Linked DNA regions of Homo sapiens: all the other regions are linked to region 2. The links are contacts of gene promoters, found by promoter capture Hi-C in blood cells and fetal thymus (Javierre and others, 2016). All regions are on one chromosome and are shown on one strand. The core of a region is centred on a gene start or on the middle of the fragment in contact, and the rest is flanking DNA. Distances in the headings are between cores, read along the strand shown. Region 1 has its middle 120 kb from the start of PGBD5. Region 2 holds the start of RAB4A (RAB4A, member RAS oncogene family). Region 3 has its middle 130 kb from the start of PGBD5. Region 4 holds the start of MRPL55 (mitochondrial ribosomal protein L55).

What was found. Contacts are between HindIII fragments. The CHiCAGO score rates a contact against its expected background, and 5 or more counts as called.
Region 1: a contact is called between a fragment that was not itself captured here and the fragment with the promoter of RAB4A in region 2, in 1 of 17 cell types (fetal thymus). The highest score is 6.0, in fetal thymus.
Region 3: a contact is called between a fragment that was not itself captured here and the fragment with the promoter of RAB4A in region 2, in 1 of 17 cell types (naive B cells). The highest score is 5.6, in naive B cells.
Region 4: a contact is called between the fragment with the promoter of MRPL55 here and the fragment with the promoter of RAB4A in region 2, in 1 of 17 cell types (monocytes). The highest score is 5.8, in monocytes.

Annotation. Positions count from the first base shown.
Region 1 is chr1:230,308,981-230,313,142 of GRCh38, forward strand. No RefSeq gene overlaps it. Among named protein-coding and RNA genes, the nearest start is that of PGBD5, 120 kb to the right of the region's middle. The HindIII fragment of the contact is 4,195 bases long and covers 406-4,162 here.
Region 2 is chr1:229,268,840-229,273,210 of GRCh38, forward strand. RAB4A (RAB4A, member RAS oncogene family) reads left to right here and starts at 2,272. Exons shown (of 8, transcript NM_004578.4): 1 at 2,272-2,531. The coding sequence starts at 2,501. It overlaps RAB4A-AS1 (RAB4A antisense RNA 1), which reads right to left and starts at 2,315. Exons shown (of 2, transcript NR_149313.1): 1 at 2,137-2,315. RefSeq lists silencers at 2,084-2,613, 2,654-2,813. The HindIII fragment of the contact is 1,493 bases long and covers 1,759-3,251 here.
Region 3 is chr1:230,291,829-230,296,009 of GRCh38, forward strand. No RefSeq gene overlaps it. Among named protein-coding and RNA genes, the nearest start is that of PGBD5, 130 kb to the right of the region's middle. RefSeq lists an enhancer at 3,508-4,009. The HindIII fragment of the contact is 233 bases long and covers 1,244-1,476 here.
Region 4 is chr1:228,107,937-228,112,269 of GRCh38, forward strand. It overlaps MRPL55 (mitochondrial ribosomal protein L55), which reads right to left and starts at 1,363. Exons shown (of 5, transcript NM_181463.3): 1 at 1,213-1,363; 2 at 1,019-1,085; 3 at 299-382. The coding sequence starts at 324. RefSeq lists enhancers at 1-296, 297-1,010, 1,279-1,448 and a silencer at 1,719-1,808. The HindIII fragment of the contact is 15,311 bases long and covers 165-4,333 here.

The DNA.
Region 1 (4,162 bases), core at 1,253-3,752, 1.0 Mb after region 2:
TGACAAGGCCCCAGGCCGCCTGTGCTCCGTGCCCCATGGTTTCTTGGGCATGGCCAGAGTCACCAGAAGCGGTGCGGGTCCTCGGAGAGCCCTGCAGCCCCCAGCCCGGCTTTGCTTCTCGCCATCTCACAGCAGTCTGTGGGTGCCGCCAGTCTCCCGCACATGCCACCACATTGGCCAAGGAAAGGCTCGCAAGTGAGACATGAATTCCCCAATTAAGCTTGCTGGAATTGTGCCCCAAAATAAAGAAATTAATTAAAGTCTTTTTGCCAGCATCAACTGGGCCGGAGGTGGGCTTGGACGCCCCATCTTGGAGCTCACGCCTCCTTCTGAGAGCGCATCCTTAGCTCCCTGGCATCTTGTGCATTGGAGGCAATAAAGGTCCAAGGCAGGGAAGACCTCAGAAGCTTGGGTGGCTCCACTGTGTCCCTGCTGCCTGTTGGTGACCCACAGCGTCCTATGGGTCAGGGGAAGGCTAAGCTGTCCCGGGTCAGGAGGCACAACCTCCTTACCACCTTGACTGTGTCCCTGCAAGTTAACCAATGACACAGAACAATCCAGATGTTTGTTGGGTGTAGTGGCGGGAAGAGCCATTTGCTCCTAGATATTTTCCAAAAGAGAGACGAGTCACGTGGTCTGGGAGACGGTGTGATGCTGAGGAAACATGGGAGTTTTGGGTTCAAATACTTCTGGGTTCAAATCCTGACCGTCCTTTACTTAGGGAGGCGTGAGCGTGTTTGAGCGTCACTATTCTCATTTGTAAAATGGAGAGGAAGGCATAAGGGGTGAGAGACAGGGCTGCCCAGAAACCTTGCTCTAGGCCAGAGGTCCTCAACCTAGGCCTCGGGTGGAACCCAGGCACCCGCAGTGATTCCAACATAGAACAGCTGTGGACCAGACTGTGGTGGGTCCTCGGAGTCACCTGGCAGTCCCTCTTGTCAGACCTTGCTCCAATCTGGCCTCTCAGGGAGCGTGGCTACACCAGCCTGCTGCTCCCCACTCCCCGACACTCCCCAAATCCTGCTCTATGTTTTCCTTTTCCGTAACACTCGGTGTCCTTTAAAAGATTCTGCTGAGGCCGGGTGTGGTGGCATACGCCTATAATCCTAGCACTTTGGGAGGCCAAGGCGGGTGGATCACCTGAAGTCAGGAATTCGAGACCAGCTTGGTGAACATGGTGAAACCCTGTCTCTACTAAATATACAAAAATTAGCCAGGCGTGGTGGCACGTGCCTGTAATCCCAGCTACTCAGGAAGCTGAGGCAGGAGAATCCAGGAAGCTGAGGCAGGAGAATCACTTGAACCCGGGAGGTGGAGGTTGCAGTAAGTCGATATCGCGCCATTGCACTCCACCTGGGGGGACAAGAGCGAAACTGTCTTGAAAAAAAAAAAGATTCTGTGACCCTTTTTGTGTTTATGGTGCTCTCTCCTCCTGTGGAACGTAAGCTCCATGAAGGCAGGGGCCTCTGTGTTGGTGACTGTCCCCAGAAGTGCCCGGCCCCTAACAAGTACTGGTAAACACTGGCTGGAAGCCGAAATGTGGAATCAGCAAGCCCCTTTTCCATTCCTGTCCCCATCACTTTACGGTGCTATAGTCTCCATGACTTTGCTTATTGTTCTCTCCCCTTGCTCTGGACCAGCAGAGACCTCGTCTGTCTTATTTAGGGCAGTGTCCACAGTGCCTGGAACACTGTCCACTCCAAACTCCGAAGGCATTTGTTGAACGAATGCGCTATTGTGTGCAGGGGACGGAGGCTCATAAGGTGTCCTCTGCTGCCCTCTGCTGGGCAGCCATGGGAAAGGCTTCATCTCAAAGAAGGTGGACAGTCCGAAAAGGGGGAGGGTGAAAATTTGGTTTGGGAGCAGGTTGTTAATTACATATTTTTCGTTTTAACTCTGTTAAAATCAGACAAATCTGCCTACACCTTCCCACTCTCCTAGGCCCTTCTTCATTCCATCCATGCCAGGACAACAATCCTGGATTTTTATTTTTATTTTTTTTAATTAAGATAATTTTTAATTGATATCTAATAGATGTACATATAGTTTCAGGGCATCCTGGATTTTGAAGTATTCCATCCTGTTAACTCCATGAACACACTTATTCTCGCAGGCACTGGCTCTCCTTTTTGGGGTTGGACTCCCCTCTCCTGGTCTCTCGACGTTTGCTTTGCTGGAGGGTGAGTGTGAACAGAGCCGCTACCAGCATTGGGCCTCACTCAGGCCGCATAAGGTCAGACTGCTGCTAAGGGTTGGGGCGACTCAGGGAAGGACAGCTCTCCATCTTTTTCTAGTTCCTGGGACTGAGGAGAGTGTGAGAGGGGGACAGAGAGGGTGAATCAGCCACAGCCTAACTGGGAAATGCTTGGCACAGAAAAATCTCGTGTCCAGTTACCTTTGGCTTCTTCGGGATCGAGAGCCTCCTCCCTCCAGACTGGTTACTGTTCCTTTAGGCAGGTTTCTTTTTTAATTTTTAAGTTTTAGAGGCAGGGTCTCACTGTGTCTTATCTAGGCTGGAGTGCAGTGGCGTGACCATAGCTCACTGCAGCCTCGACTACCTGGGCTAAAGTGATCCTCTTGCTCCAGCCTCCCCAGGAATTGGAACCAGAAATTTTTAATGTGTATAGACTTCACATTCTCTTGCCTGGTACTGTCAGGGTGGTTTAACCTGGGCAGAATTTTCAGACTCATGTCTATTGGCCCAAGATCCTCCCAGTGACAAATCCCTGAGCTTTTTGGCTCTAAATCAGCTAGTGTCACGTGGGTTTGTTCCAAAAAACGAGTCTACTCATTCTGTAGAATAACATCCACACCTGACCTCTCTCTGGCCATGTCAGTCTCCCATAGCAATTACTTTTAAAATATTCTGCCCCAGAGACAGAACATGATTCATGTATCCCCATTTGTGGTTGGGAAAATACGGGCTTCATTCCTTGATTAATTTTTACATACTATTATCACTCTGGCCACATGAGATATTGCGTTTGTGTCTCTCCCACTATTTGACAGCCCTTGATGGCAAAGACTGTCCTTGCTTATACCCTTAGTGTTTAGCATAGTGCCTACTGATTTGGAAGAGCTCAATTAAAGTGTTTTGAATGAATGACTTAGTCCACTTGCCCTGTACTATTCTTCTGCTCAAACTAGAACATGTTTGTCTTTTTTTGTGTGTATTCCTGTGCATGTCCCCAAAGGCCCACAGCCCTGGGAGATGGTTCTGTTTTTTTGTTTGTTTGTTTTTGTTGTTGTTGTTATTGTTTCAAACAAACAGCGTCTTGTTTGGGCTAAAGTGATCCTGGGCTAAAGTGATCCTTCAGCCCAAGCTGAAGTGCAGTGGTGCAATCAGTGCTCACTGCAGCCTTGAATTTCTGGGCTTGAGCGATCCTCTGCCTCAGCCTCCCAAGTAACTGGGACTGCAGGCTGCAGGTGCATGCCACCATGCCCAGCTAATTTTTTTTTTTTTTTTTTTTTTGGAGACGAAGTCTTGCTCTGTCACCCAGGCTGGAGTGCAATGGCGCTATCTCGGCTCACTGCAACCTTTACGTCCCGGCTGCAAGTGATTCTCCTGCCTCAGCCTCCCTAGTAGCTGGGATTACAGGCGTGTGCCACCAAGCCCAGCTAATTTTTGTATTTTTAGTAGAGACAGGGTTTTGCCATGTTGGCCACGTTGGTCTTGAACTCCTGACCTCAAGCAATCCACCCACCTCAGACTCCCAAAGTGCTGGGATTACAGGTGTGAGCCACAGCACCCAGCCCAGCTAAATTTTTAAATTCTATTTCTCAGAGACAGGGTCTCACTATGTTTCCCAGGTTGGTTTGGAACTCCTGGCCCCATGTGATCCTCTTGCCTTGGCTTCCCAAAGTGCTGGGATTATAGGCATGAGCTACTGCGCCCCAGCACCACTGGGAGATGTGATCAGCATTCAGTCAATGTGGCAGGGAAGGCTGGGCCCTGGGATCAGTAAACTAAATCCCATTATCCTATTCATCTATAAACGGTCTTTTGAATCCTCCTTGTTGGAGTTTTTCCTCGTTATGGATGTCTCTACCCTCAAAATGTCTTGGATACAAAAGGTTATGTCCTCACCCTACTACCGTTGAGAGGGGAAGGTCCCTGTGCACCGTGGGAACCCTGAGGCTGGAGAACCTGTATGCCAGGTGA
Region 2 (4,371 bases), core at 1,022-3,521:
GCAGGAAGGAAAGTACCAGATACTTGAAGGACCCACTGACCTGGAAAAAAGTGGGATCTAGTTTCAGCTTGAAAAAATCCTTCTTCATAATTACATTTCCCTTAGGCAAATCTCTAACATGCCTAGGCTTTTGTATATCTGTTTTTACTGCGTCACAAACCTCCCCCAAAGAGAAGGGAGACGATAACTGGAGAAAACCACAAATTAATCTTCCAATATTTTTTTCTTCCATATAATCAGCAGTGCCTCAGAATCAAAGCAGTCTCTAAAAATATTTTGAAGAAATTTATTTTCTTGGATCTTCAAAGATCCAAAGTTACTGAGATGCAAAGAATCTTCCACAGTATCATCCAAGGATACTGAAGGGCTCCTTCAAACCTCGCCCTTGTATATTTCTTCTTCCAGTTGTGATACTGCAGTTACATTTGCAAACCAAATGATCCCTTTGGGTGGTTTTTCCAAAACAAATCGTCTTTCCCAAAGGCCTACCTAAGTCTTCATTTTCCACAAAGTAGAAAACTGCCCACAGCTTTGAAATGGCAGCATAATTTGTATTTCTACCACCTTGTCCAGGTTTCAGGGATCTCTGGTCCAGTTTCAGTCAATAATGCTAACTATCACTGCAGCTCACTGACTTCTTTCTTGTACATAGCAGTTTTTCGCAGGAAGAAAACAAATCTAACGAATAGGAATAACTTCAGGTGATGCTGTTTTCTTCCCGCTTCCTGGGATCACTGTCTTTCCTCTGAAATGGTTTTAATCAGAACCAATCTGTTATACTCAGGAGCCTAAATCAAACACGACATGCAGAGAGACAAACAAGAAAGCAACAAATGATCTGAGCCACTGAACAAGAAATATATATAAAACAGTTTTAGGAATTACAGCTGTCACAACTTTTCACCATGGGGCCTTCTCTGTGATTTAGAAAAAACTGCATTTATTTGTTATTAGGATCGGAGACAAGAGAAAAATACCGACCCAAATAGCCACTGGGGAAGAGGGAAGCTCTGATGCCAATTTATGTGGAGGATGGAGCCAAACTGACTCACACACACACACACAAAAGTATGTACTGGCATTTTCCACACAGTCCAGGTCACTTGGGAGCTTAGCCAAGGATATTTTGAGCATTCGACTACCTATTGTGAACAAGGTTGGGAACTATGAGGCGCTATGTGGCCCTGATCAAGCTCAGATGGGCCAAATCCTCAACCAAAATTCTCTTTCCCATAAATGTTTATCTCTACATTTCCCACAGAAGGGGATTCTAACTCAGTTTTGCTTCTGAAACCAAACTATCCAAGGCCAGGTGAGATGACTCATGCCTGTAATCCCAGCAATTTGGGAGGCCAAGGAGGGAGGATGCTTGAACTCAGGAGTTCAAGACCAGCCTGGGCAACATAACAAGACCCCATCTCTACAAAAAATTTAAAAATTGGCGCGGTGTGGTCGTGTGAGCCCCTAGCCCCAGCTACTCAGGAGGCTGAGGCAGGAGAATCGGTTGGGCTGGGCTGACAGTGCCAGACCCTGTTAAAAAATAAAAATTAAAAAAACTCCTAAATTTGGAAACACATCCCCAGCTGAGGGCCGGGAGATACTTCTCAACCGTAATCCAGAACCCTCTAAAATGGGATGTGGAGAGGCTGCAGCCTGTAGTCTTGCGATGACCTTTTAGCACCTGGGCATCTTGCGCTTCTGTCATTCCGCCCACACCCGCTCAGCTCCATCCAAGAGGGCCCGGCAGTTTGGAGTGAAAGCTTAGCTTCCCAACGGGTAAATGAACCTGCCTCCCATTCACAGGGCGGCCTCTGGCTGGACACCTGGGGCCTACTGCCTCCTTGTTACACATTAACCAAGTTCTGGCCTCCATCGTAACAGCGTCAGGGAAGTTTTTTCCTGGCTGACAGCCGCAGATGATGACCGAAGACAACGTCTTAACTGAGACGGGCCAATTTGGCAAATGGACTGCTTTCCTCCCCAGTGCGGGCACCTTCCTCCTCTGTCCGGCAACTGGACCCCACTGTCCCCAGCCCTCTGTCACCCCCAAACCTGCCCACCGCCCGCCTCTACCCGACCCTCCCTCAGGGAAATCGGGACTCAGCCCCCAACGCCCCCACCTGCCGCTCTGCCCACCTCAGCGCACACCGCCAGAGCGCCCAGCCCGCGCACGTGCTTCCGGCGCGCGCCGAAGTCCTCACGCGCCCCGCCCCGGCCTCCCCGTGCGCACGCGCGAACGCGGGGTGGGCCGGGCCTCGCGTAGCCCATCTCCTCTTCCTCCTCGCGGTCGCGGCCGGACGGAGGGTGGAGGGCCCTGCGCCTGCGCGGAGCTGGAGTCCGGCTGGGCCGCAGCCGCTGGGAGACCGGCGGTTGCCGTGGGGACCGGTCGGGCCCCTCCCTCCTCCGGTCCCCCGCCCCAGGTCCTTCCCCACCGAGACGCGCCGGCGGACCGCGGGCGAGTGCAGCCGGTGACCCGGCGAGAGGCGGCGCCGCTCCCAAGATGTCGCAGACGGCCATGTCCGAAACCTACGGTACGAGGCCCGGGCTGGCGGGGCGCGCGGGTCGGGCCGCGGGGGGCGTCGGTGGCGCGGGGCCGGGCCTGGGCTGCGGGGGTCTTGAGGGTGGCGGTGGCGCCGGCCGGAGCCGGGGGACGGATCTCGGAGGTGTCTGGGCTTGGGACCGGGATGGGGGACGCGGGCCGCTGGGGGCTCGGGTGGGGTAGCGGGTGCGCGGGGCGCGGGGGCGCTGTGCACAGCGCATTGGCGTGATCCGCCTTTTCAAGTTTCCTCTTGCTCTTTCTCTGCTCTTGCACTCTTAGCGCTTTTCCCCTCTCAGTCTAATGTAAATAACTGAAGGTTTGAAAAGCCAGCTTGATGTTCGGTTTCAGCTGCGATATTATCCCCAGCGAGCCTGTGAAGGGCTTAGGGCGACGCCTGTGTTCCTCAAATACTTCAGTTTGACCTTTCCTGGTTTGGAATTCCTTGCTTTACATTGGGATTACAGTGAGGAGTTATTAATAGGCTAATTCATTCATCTCTTCCTCCGGAGACCTCTTGCTTCGTTTATTTCTCCCTCCCTCTCAGTGTTTTTTAGCCTTTTCTGGGTTGCATTTTGGCTATTTATAAACATGTCTTGTCTCCTTCTTAAGACCGTAAGCACCTTGGAAGCAAAGCCCTGGCTGTTTAATCTTTGTTTCCCCTGCAGCACCCAGACCTGGAGGTGCTTGACAAATACTGTTTTGAATAAGCGAAAGCTTTCCCAGTGCATATGCTGTGTGCTTTTTTTTTTTTCTCCCCTTTTTTGGCCTTGCGTGGTAAGAATAAACAACTTGTACTTTGTATCAGAGTTGAATATTAATAGATGTTTACCAGTCCCTAATCACTCTTTCAGATGTATGTATTCTCAGATTAAGACTTTGATTTGGAGTTTTACAGTCCCAGAGAGAGGCTCAAGTTCAAAATTACATACCTCAAGCCAAATTAGTCCTGTCTCCATCTGTCCTGGCATGCTGCTTCCTTCTCTGCAACAAATACTGTGGAATGGCATTAGGGAAGCGAGCACCGTGCTGGGAGGGCTGTACATCCTGCAGAAACACAGCAGACACGGCTCTGGTCTCATGGAGCGTAGTCTATTGAGGGAATGCAGTATTAATCCAATTGTGATACTAATGAGTGAATAATTAAAAACCAGGCAAGAGTTCTGAAGGAGTGTGGTCCGTGAAAGTGTGTTAGAAAGAAAGATGACCCAGACAGGGGTGTCAGGGAGGCATTAACCAGGCAGCACGCAGAACATCTCAGGCCTGTGGGAAGGGTAACTCAAGAAGGGTGTGTTTTGAGTACCACGCTGGAGAGGTGGATGAGGAGGCAGAGAGGAGAGGGTCTTGAGGAAGGCGTCAGTTTGTCTTGTAAGAAAAAATGGGAACTTTTGGAAGGGCTTCCATGCTGGGGTCACAGTGCATTTGGTCCACCTTCAGTGAGTGACTCCTGTGACTGGTACTGCCCTGTTCTTGGTGACAAAGGGGCATGACATCTGTTCCTAGAAGGCGTAGGAAATCCTCCAGTAAGTCGATGCCTTCATCAGGACAAGTGTTTGCAAATGTTTCTGCAAATGGCAGTGGTCTGGTTCTTCCTGTAGAGAACCACAGTCAGAAATGTTGTAAGGAAAACATGGTCTTTAGCAATTTTTGGTTACATCTTTGCACTTCTTTATTTTCAAGTGCTCTTTAGCCCAGGCTTAGTTTCTTTAACCTGAGTAAGGAGCACGGAGCACTAGGGGAAGGGTGGAATGTCCAAATAAGAAAAGCAAGTGGGGGTCATGAATCAGTAAGAAAGGATTGGAAGAGTTCAGGAGATAGAGCTTTTATGTTTCATT
Region 3 (4,181 bases), core at 110-2,609, 1.0 Mb after region 2:
GACGGTGAGGGGGAGGGGGGAGCGGTGAGGGAGGGAAGCGGTGTGGGGGGAGCGGTGAGGTGGGGAGCGGTGAAGGAGGGAGCGGTGAGGTGGGGAGCGGTGAGGCGGGGAGCCGTGAATGGGGGACCGGTGAGGGGGCAAGTGGTGAAGCGGGGAGTGGCAGGTCCTCCTCTACGGTGGCTGTTCTCTGCCCCTCACCCTGGGGTGCTGCTCTGCCGCCCGGCTCCTCACACTCTCCCTTGGATTCGAATGACAGCGTGACCTCAGGTCCCCTATTCCTGTGCCCTTGGATGCTCCAAGCAGGTGAGGAAAGGGAGGAAATAGGTTCTTGGGGCTCTAGCCACGTCAGGTGAATAGAATCAGGAAATGTCCACCATGTCCTCTTCCTGCTGCCAGGGATAGCAGGGCTCCTGAGAAGGACACCGCATCCCGGCGAGGCGAGGTCGGAGAGGGGGCCGGGGCACAGCTGCCAGAGTGATGGGCGCTCTTGTCTGTCAAAAGCCCCTTTTCATAATGGCCGTTCTGGGAGAAGAGAAGCTCAGGCTGGCAGCTTGGGTCTCACATACCTGACTGACTGTCATTAATTGCCTCTCGCAGGCTCTTGCCCTCTCCACCTCTCTCTCTTTCCTTCTCCCTCCCTCTCTCTCTCAACCTGCCTCTCTCTTTCCCTCCTCTCTCTCTCTCAACCTGCCTCTCTCTTTCCCTCCTCTCTCTCTCTCAACCTCTCTTTCCTGCTCCCTCTCTCTTTCCCTCTCCCTCTCTCTCTTTCTCCCTCCCTCCCTCTCTCTCTCAACCTGCCTCTCTCTTTCCCTTCCTCTCTCTCCTTCTCTTGCTCTAAAAATTCAGATGTTTTCTCCCCAAACACATTTTTTCTTTGTTTGTTTTTGTTTTTGTTTTAATTTTAGCCAAGTTAGTCCCAGAGGCAGCAAATCCAAATCGTGAGGCCGTCTCAGGGGTGCATTATTCTAGGGAGGGCCTCTCTGACGTGTCCATGGGAGACACCCTTAGAGCAAGGAGCGGATGGGAAAGCTCATGGACACAGCCTGCATGTCAGCGGCCTTTCCAAGAGCTGTTGCCTGGGCAATGAAATGGAGAGATTTTGAAAAGCCTCTCTCAGCGTGTCCACACCTGTCCTGCTAGCACGCCACCTGTGGTGTTATTAAAATCACTTGTCCTGTGGCGGCTGCTGCTACAATATGTGTCTCCCAGAGGGGAGAGCCACAGTTCATTAACCTGATTATTAAGCTTCATTAACTTGACTCATCCACTACTAACTAACCCTGCACTGCCCTGAGAATCAGATGATGGCCTCACAGGCAGCAAGAGAAGGCAGAGACCCAGAGAGCCAGATGCACCCGTGTCCGTGTGTGGATCAGGCAGCATGCTCTAGTGGAAGGCACCTGTGCTCCCGATGCCTGGCTGGACTCTTCGGGTGGGTCACACTGCCATCCTGGAGATGAAGAGCCCCCTCCAATAAGCTTGTCAATGCTTTTCCCTGAGAGCTTTGTATGAAGGCATCCTCCTGTTAGGAAAACACACAGATGTTCACTGCCCTCAGGATTAAACCACGTGCACGCTGGCATCCAGGCTGGGACACACTGGCATTCAGCCTGGGAGGCTCTGAGCACCCAGGACGTGGGATTTGAGGCAGAGGAGTCAGTGAACAGGGGGAACCAGCAGATGGGCATCAGTGAGCAGCTGAACGCAGCTGGAGAGAAAGGAGAAGCTAAGCCCGAGAATGGACGCCAGCCCCATCACCCTCTCGGCCTGAGGATGCTGGATTTGCTGTGGTGCTGTCATTGTGGAAGGAGACAGATCCCAGGAACTTTCATACCAGGAGGCCTGTGTCAACCTGCCTCTCTCCTCCTTCTGCAGGGACTATGCTGGCCTCTTCAAAGTCTAGGTCTTTCCAACCATCGTTTGTGGAAAGACTTTATGGCAAGGAGCACGCAAGAGGCAGCAGACAGGGACGTCATTCATGTGAGAATCTGTAGTGTCTCCCCATGGGAAAGCCTGCTCTTTGGAGAGGGCAGGATGACCATAGAATTGCTCAGACTCGGTGGCCTGGCAGGTGCTGTGAGCAAACAGGTAAACAGCTTCAGGACAGGAGCCTTCAATCCCTTATCCTGCTCCCAAGCATTCGGGGAGAGGGGCCCTAGAGAGAGACTGGAAAGGGTACAATGTGCTCAAGGAATGAAATGGCTTGTGGAGGGCTGCCCAGAGATGGTGGGTCCAGTTCAAATCAGTTCTGCCTCTGTTCATAATCCCACCCACACCAGGCATCAGCCGGAGCTGACCTGCAGGCCAGAAAGAAAGAAGGGGCCAGAAAGTTTAGTTCCATAAGGGCCAGATGGCCTGAGCAATGCCCATCAGTCAGACTTGTCTTGGGGATTGCTAAGATACAACTGTGCTGAAAGTGTTATACTTTTAGTAAAAAAAATACATTCTGAGGCTGGGCGCGGTGGCTCATGCCTGTCCTCCCAGCGACTCAGGAGGCCAAGGCAAGAGGATCACTTGAGGCCAGGAGTTCAAGACCAGCTTGGGCAACACAAGACCTCATCTCTACAAAAATAAGCAAACAAATAGATACACTTTGATACAGTTGATACAATAATATCAACTGACACTTGGATAGTATTAGGTTGGTGCAAAAGTTATTGGGGTTTTTGCCATTATGTTTAATAACTTTTGCACCAACCTATATTTATAGTAGACTGAATAATTGCCACGCAAAGATGTTAGGTCCCAATCTCTCATATAGAGCCATGAGCCCATTGGGTGGAGCCCAAGCCATAGACGGTTATCACCAGCCCCGAGCCCTAATGGAACGTGCCCTAATGGAACTCCTGCCCTGCTGGAGTCCTTCATTGCGTGAGACTCATGACTCCTTTCTTCCTTTCACTGTTCCCTTTTGGAATGGGAGAGTCTATCATTGTTTCGCTGTTATACCACACCTGTTATACCACATTGCTTTTGGAATAAATTGATTTTCTAGTTTCACAGGTCCAGAGATAGGAAGGAATTTTTTTCCAGGATGAATCAGATCCAGAGTCTAACCCATATCTTAATCAGATGCTGTGATTTGGAATTTCTGAGTTAATGAGATTTAGATGAGATTTTGGACATGAGTTGATTGTAGTGGATTGAGACTTTTGGGAACATTGAAATGGGGTAAATATATTTTGCATGTGGAACAGACATGAATCTTTGGAGACCCAAGGGAGGACTCTGGTAGGCTGAATAATGGCCTGACCAAAGATATTAAGGTCTGTTATCCAAAAGGCCATCAGAATGGCTCACTAGTAGGAAGGAGAGCTATATTGGTAGCATCAGCTTGCAAACTGGGAAGAGATCATCTCCAGTGTGGACTGAAGGTGCGCTCTTCAGAGGGGAACGGAGAGGCTGGGTTTTATGCCTAACGAGGTCTGCATTACCCCAAAAAACAATACATATTCAGCAGGTTTGGGGGAGACGCTATGCATGTTTATGAGGGGAGTTGAGCACATGTGCAATGGGTAACCATATATATAACATACATCCCATGCTCATTTTGGGGCAAGGTTTTAGCATTAAAATGAGGTGGCATTTGGCTCAAGTCAGAAGGTGAACTATATGACACAAAGTTTGTGCGCAGCCTCTATAAGCTGCTGAAACTGGCTTCAAGTCTGCAGGTGTTTATCAGAAAAGAACATTTGTAAGGCTGGTCCTCTGTCCAACAGAGTTGTTGTGGTCTGGGGTATAAAGCCGAGTGAGGCAGGATCTGATCATTTGCCTGATAGCTTCTATTGTTAGGGAGTTTTGCAAGACAGTGGTTTTCCTTGCAGCCATAAGAATTTAGAAATTTTCCATGCCAGCTGGGCCCCGAACCCTCAACTCCTAGGTACCTTTTGTTTCTTTAACCTCAGGGTCTGTCTTAGTTGATAAAGGGGTGTCTATTTTGGTTTCTCAGATCACAGGTCCTAATTTCTAGAGCCTTAAATGTTATCTTATAAGGAAAAATATTCTTTGCAATTATTATTAAGTATCTTGACATGGAGAGATGATCCTGGATTATTCAAATGGGCTCTCAATCCAACCATAAGTGTCCCTATAAAAGAGAGACAGGCTGGGCACTGTGGCTCCCACCTGTCACTCCCAGCACTCTGGAAGGCTGAGGAAGGAAGATCACTTGAGCCCAGGAG
Region 4 (4,333 bases), core at 113-2,612, 1.2 Mb before region 2:
TGGCTGTGATTGGGCACTGCCGGGCCACAGGAGACATTACCAGAGCTGGTGACCCGTGCCGGGGCAGGATGAGCCTCGGGGCTTCCTCAGGAGCCACAGGCTGTGGTCAGAGGCGTTCTGGCCCCCTAGCCAGGAAGAGGCTGCCAGGCTGAGCAAGGGCACAAAGCTTCCAGCACAGGGGACAGTGGACAATAGCAAGGACTAGGGAGGATTAGAATGGCGGTTTCCTGCTGAAGAGAGGGGTTCCCTGGGGTGGCCCCTGACAGTAATCCCCAGGGACCTAAAAGTCCATGCTTACCCAAGCAGGCTGCCCACGGCCGCCATTCCTCCTTACAGCCCCAGTGGCACGTGGAGGTGGTCAGTACAGGCCCTGGCGTGCAACCTGCTAGGCAGAGAATGAAGAGATCTTTTTTAAAAGGAAGGTTCTTCCACCTAATGGTTTCTTATCAAATCCCAGCCCAGGATGCTTCCAAGACACATGTAATCACCACGCCACTCACCAACCTCTCCCAGCAACCCTTGGACTTCTCAGAACCGCCTGTAGAGGTTTTTCCAAAAGCAGAAGTTGGTCACTACTCCCAAAGATTCTGAGTCAGCCTGCGGCAGGGCCCAGGCTGTCTGTTCTGGCCGTTACCGAGTCTGCGAAACCTCTCTGAATGGACTGCAGCCTCAAAAGTGGAGCTGAGGTCATGCCTTGCTTTCTAAGGTCATTGCTAGTTTTAATAAAAACTCAGTGAAGTGAGGATTGTCATGCTTGCTTAAAGGAGAATGGAGGCCCAGGGCTGCTTTGCTGTGACCTGGATTCCCATGGGAGTCTGTGCTGAGGTGTGCGAAGTAAAAGCCCAGTTTTCAATACTCAGATTCCAGGAGATGAGGCTGCACAGAGGCCGAGCGCCCAGCTTCCTCTGGCGTACCCCTGTCTCTCACCAAGGAAGGGACCTGAAGACAGGTCCGGCTGCCTCTAAAATGGAAATCCTGCTACGTGTCCTATGCCCACATCCCTCTCCCTCGGCCTCACCAGCACAGGAGCCTGGGGCTGGTCCAGGAGGGTCTTCGGGGAAAGCTCCCTCTCCTTTCCTGCTAGACTGCATGGGGACAAGGGCTTATCACAGGTGCAGCCCCCTGTCCCCTTCCCTGCCTCCCTCCCTCCCGACTCCACCGGGAGGGTACAGCGCCTCCCGCCTCTGTTCCCGGCCCACACGAGGCGCCAACCTGCGGCCGCCACAGTCGCTGCGGAGGGGTCTGAGGACAGGCGGTCCTGACTCCCGCTGCCCGGTGGAACTAAGACCAGGGACGAGGCCACGCAGGAGATCAAGGTACTCACTGCGTTGGGTGCTGCTGCGCTGCAGCCCACGACGTCACTGGCAGGCGCTGCGTCGCGCGGTATGACGTGTTCCATGGCAGGGAGAGGCAAGAGTGGGCGGTGAGACACGAAGATATACGCCCCTGTTGGGCGGGGCCGGCGCGGCGTGATGTAATCTCGGGGGCGGGACGAAGCCTAGGTGGGCGGGGCCTGCGGGGGCGCTGTGGCGGTACAAGAACCCAGGCGGGGCCGGCGAGCAGGTGACCTCCGTCCCTACCGGGAGGACCAGGGCGGGCCGGCGAGGTCGAGGGGGACCCGCGGGTCTGAGGGAGGACGGAGTGGGGGAGTGCTGAGGGAGGACCCGGGGTGGGGAGCTGAGGGAGGATCCGCAGGGCTGAGGGAGGATCCAGGAGAGCTGATAGAGGTCCCGGAGGGCTGAGGGAGGACCCAGGGGTCCTGAGGGAGGACGCAGGGGGCTGAGGGAAGACGCAGGGGGGCTGAGGGAGGATCCTCGGAGCTGAAGGGGCATCAGCTGGGCTGAGGGAGGACCCAGGGGGACTGCGGGAGCACCCGGGCGGGGGCTGAGGGAAGGAGGATCCGCGGGGCTGAGTGGGCACCAGCTGGGCTGAGGGAGGATCCAGGGGGAGCTGCGGAAGGATCTGCGGGGCTGAGAGAGGATCTAGAAGGGGTGAGAGAGGTCCCAGGAGGCTAAGGGGGGAATCTGCAGAACTGAGGGAGGTCCCAGGGGGCAGTGAGGGAGGATCCATGGGCGCTGAGGTGGGAATCTAGGGAGGCTGAGGGAGGATCTGTGGGGATGACGGAAGTTCAAGGGGGGCTGAAGAGGCACGCAGCGGGCTGAGGAGGACCTGAGAGGCTGAAGGAGGATCCGAAAGGCTGATACAGCGGGGCTGAGGGGGGATCCGCGGGGTTGGCGGGGGCTGAGAAATGACCCTGTAGTTCACAGCAAAATGGAGTAATTTATGTCACAACGTAACCAAAATGGAGTGGGGAGGGCCCTAAGGAAGCAGCTGTCACGCATTTCTGAAATGCCAGAGAGGCTCGCTATTACCTTGTAAACAGAGCTTATTCCGGGCATTTCCACTGGCCTGCAGTATTCCAGATGAGATGTTTGGACCAGGGCAGGCAGATAGCATCGCCTATCTGCCTCAGCGAACCAGGGTCACTTTGTGCAATGAGTTCATGAGACCAGGGCCTTTGTTTTGTGAAAGTTACAAATAAGGAGTGAAATCACTTTGTCAGGCCCAGACAAACAGGGCTGGGAAGAACAGGAGGCTCAGGCTTAGTGTCTGAGATAAGAATTATTCGCAAGGACTTTCTAAAAACCCCACAAGAAACCCTTTTGTGTCATTCACGGGTCTCCTACTTTGACAAAATTTAGACCATCTTTAGGACTGCAGTAATTCAGTTAAGATGCTCGGAATAAACACTTGCCCAGTAATGGCAGCGCCACCAATGAACTGAGGACAACTTTGAGCTTTGGCGTTGGGCCCCTGGAACCAATGAACTCTTTCTAAGCAGCTTCTGTGAACCGCTCCCTTTTCGCTGATAAAAGTTCCCTTTTCACTGATAAAAAGTTCCCTTTACCCTTCCCTCACTGGGAATGCTGGTGGCTTGCTGCTGTTGATGAAAAGAGTCAAACTTTGTAAAATATTTTAAGAGATATATTCTGAGCCAAATATGAGTAACCATGGCCTGTGACACAGCCCTCAGGACAGAGGTCCTGAGAACATGTTCCCAAGGTGGTTGGGGTGCAGCTTGGTTTTATACATTTTAGGGAGGCATGAGACATCAATCAAATACATTTAAAACCTACATTGGTTTGGTTCAGAAAGGCAGGACAACTCGAAGCAGGGGTCAAGGGTGCTGGCTTCCAGCTTATAGGTAGATTGAAAAATTTTCTGTTTGACAATTGGTTGAATTTACCTGAAGACCTGGGATTAACAGAAAGGAATGTCTGGGTTAAGATAAAAGATTGTGGGTGGGGTGCAGTGGCTCACACCTGTAATCCCAGCACTTTGGGAGGCTAAGGCAGGCGGATCACGAGGTCAGGAGTTCGAGACCAGCCTGACCAACATGGTGAAACCTCCTCTCTACTAAAAATACAAAAATTAGCTGGGCGTGGTGGTGTGTGCCTGTAATCCCAGTTACTCAGGAGGCTGAGGCAGAAGAATCACTTCAGCCCAGGAGGCGGAGGTTGAAGTGAGCCGAGATTGCGCCACTGCACTCCAGCTTAGGCAATAGAGTGAGACTCCATCTAAAAAAAAAAAAAAAGGAAAGAAAAAAAAATATATATATATATGATTGTGGAGACCAAAGTTCTTATTTGCAGATGAAGCCTTCAGGTATTAGGCTTCAGAGAGAATAGGTTGTAAAATGTTTATCGGACTTAAAGTCTATGTTGATGTTAATGCCAGAGAGGTATAATGAGGCATGTCTGACCCCCACTTCTTATGGCCTGAACCAGTCTTTGAGGTTAAATTTTAAGAGTTCCAGGCCAGGCACAGTGGCTGACACCTGTAATCCCAACACTTTGGGAGGCAGAGGTGGGCGAATCACTTCAGGTCAGGAGTTCGAGACCAGCCTGGCCAACATGGTGAAACCCGGTCTCCACTAAAAAATATACAAAAATTAGCCAGGCATGGTGGTGCGCACCTGTAATCCCAGCTACTCAGGAGGCTGAGGCAGGAGAATCACTTGAACCTGGGAGGCAGAGGTTGCAGTGAGCAGAGATCGCACCACTGCACTCCAGCCTGGGTGACAGAGCAAGACTCCGTCAAAAAAAAAAAATTTTTTTTAAGAGTTCCCTGGCCGAGGAGGAAGTCCATTTAGATGGCTGGGGAGCCTTATAAATTTATTTTTTATTTTTGGTTTACACTTGATAAAAACTTCAGCCGAATTAAATTTAAAGTTTAATTGAGCAATGAATGATTCACGAATCACGCAGCCCCCAGAATCACAGCAGATTCACAGAGACTCCAGCACAGCCACGTGGTGGAAGATTCGTAGACA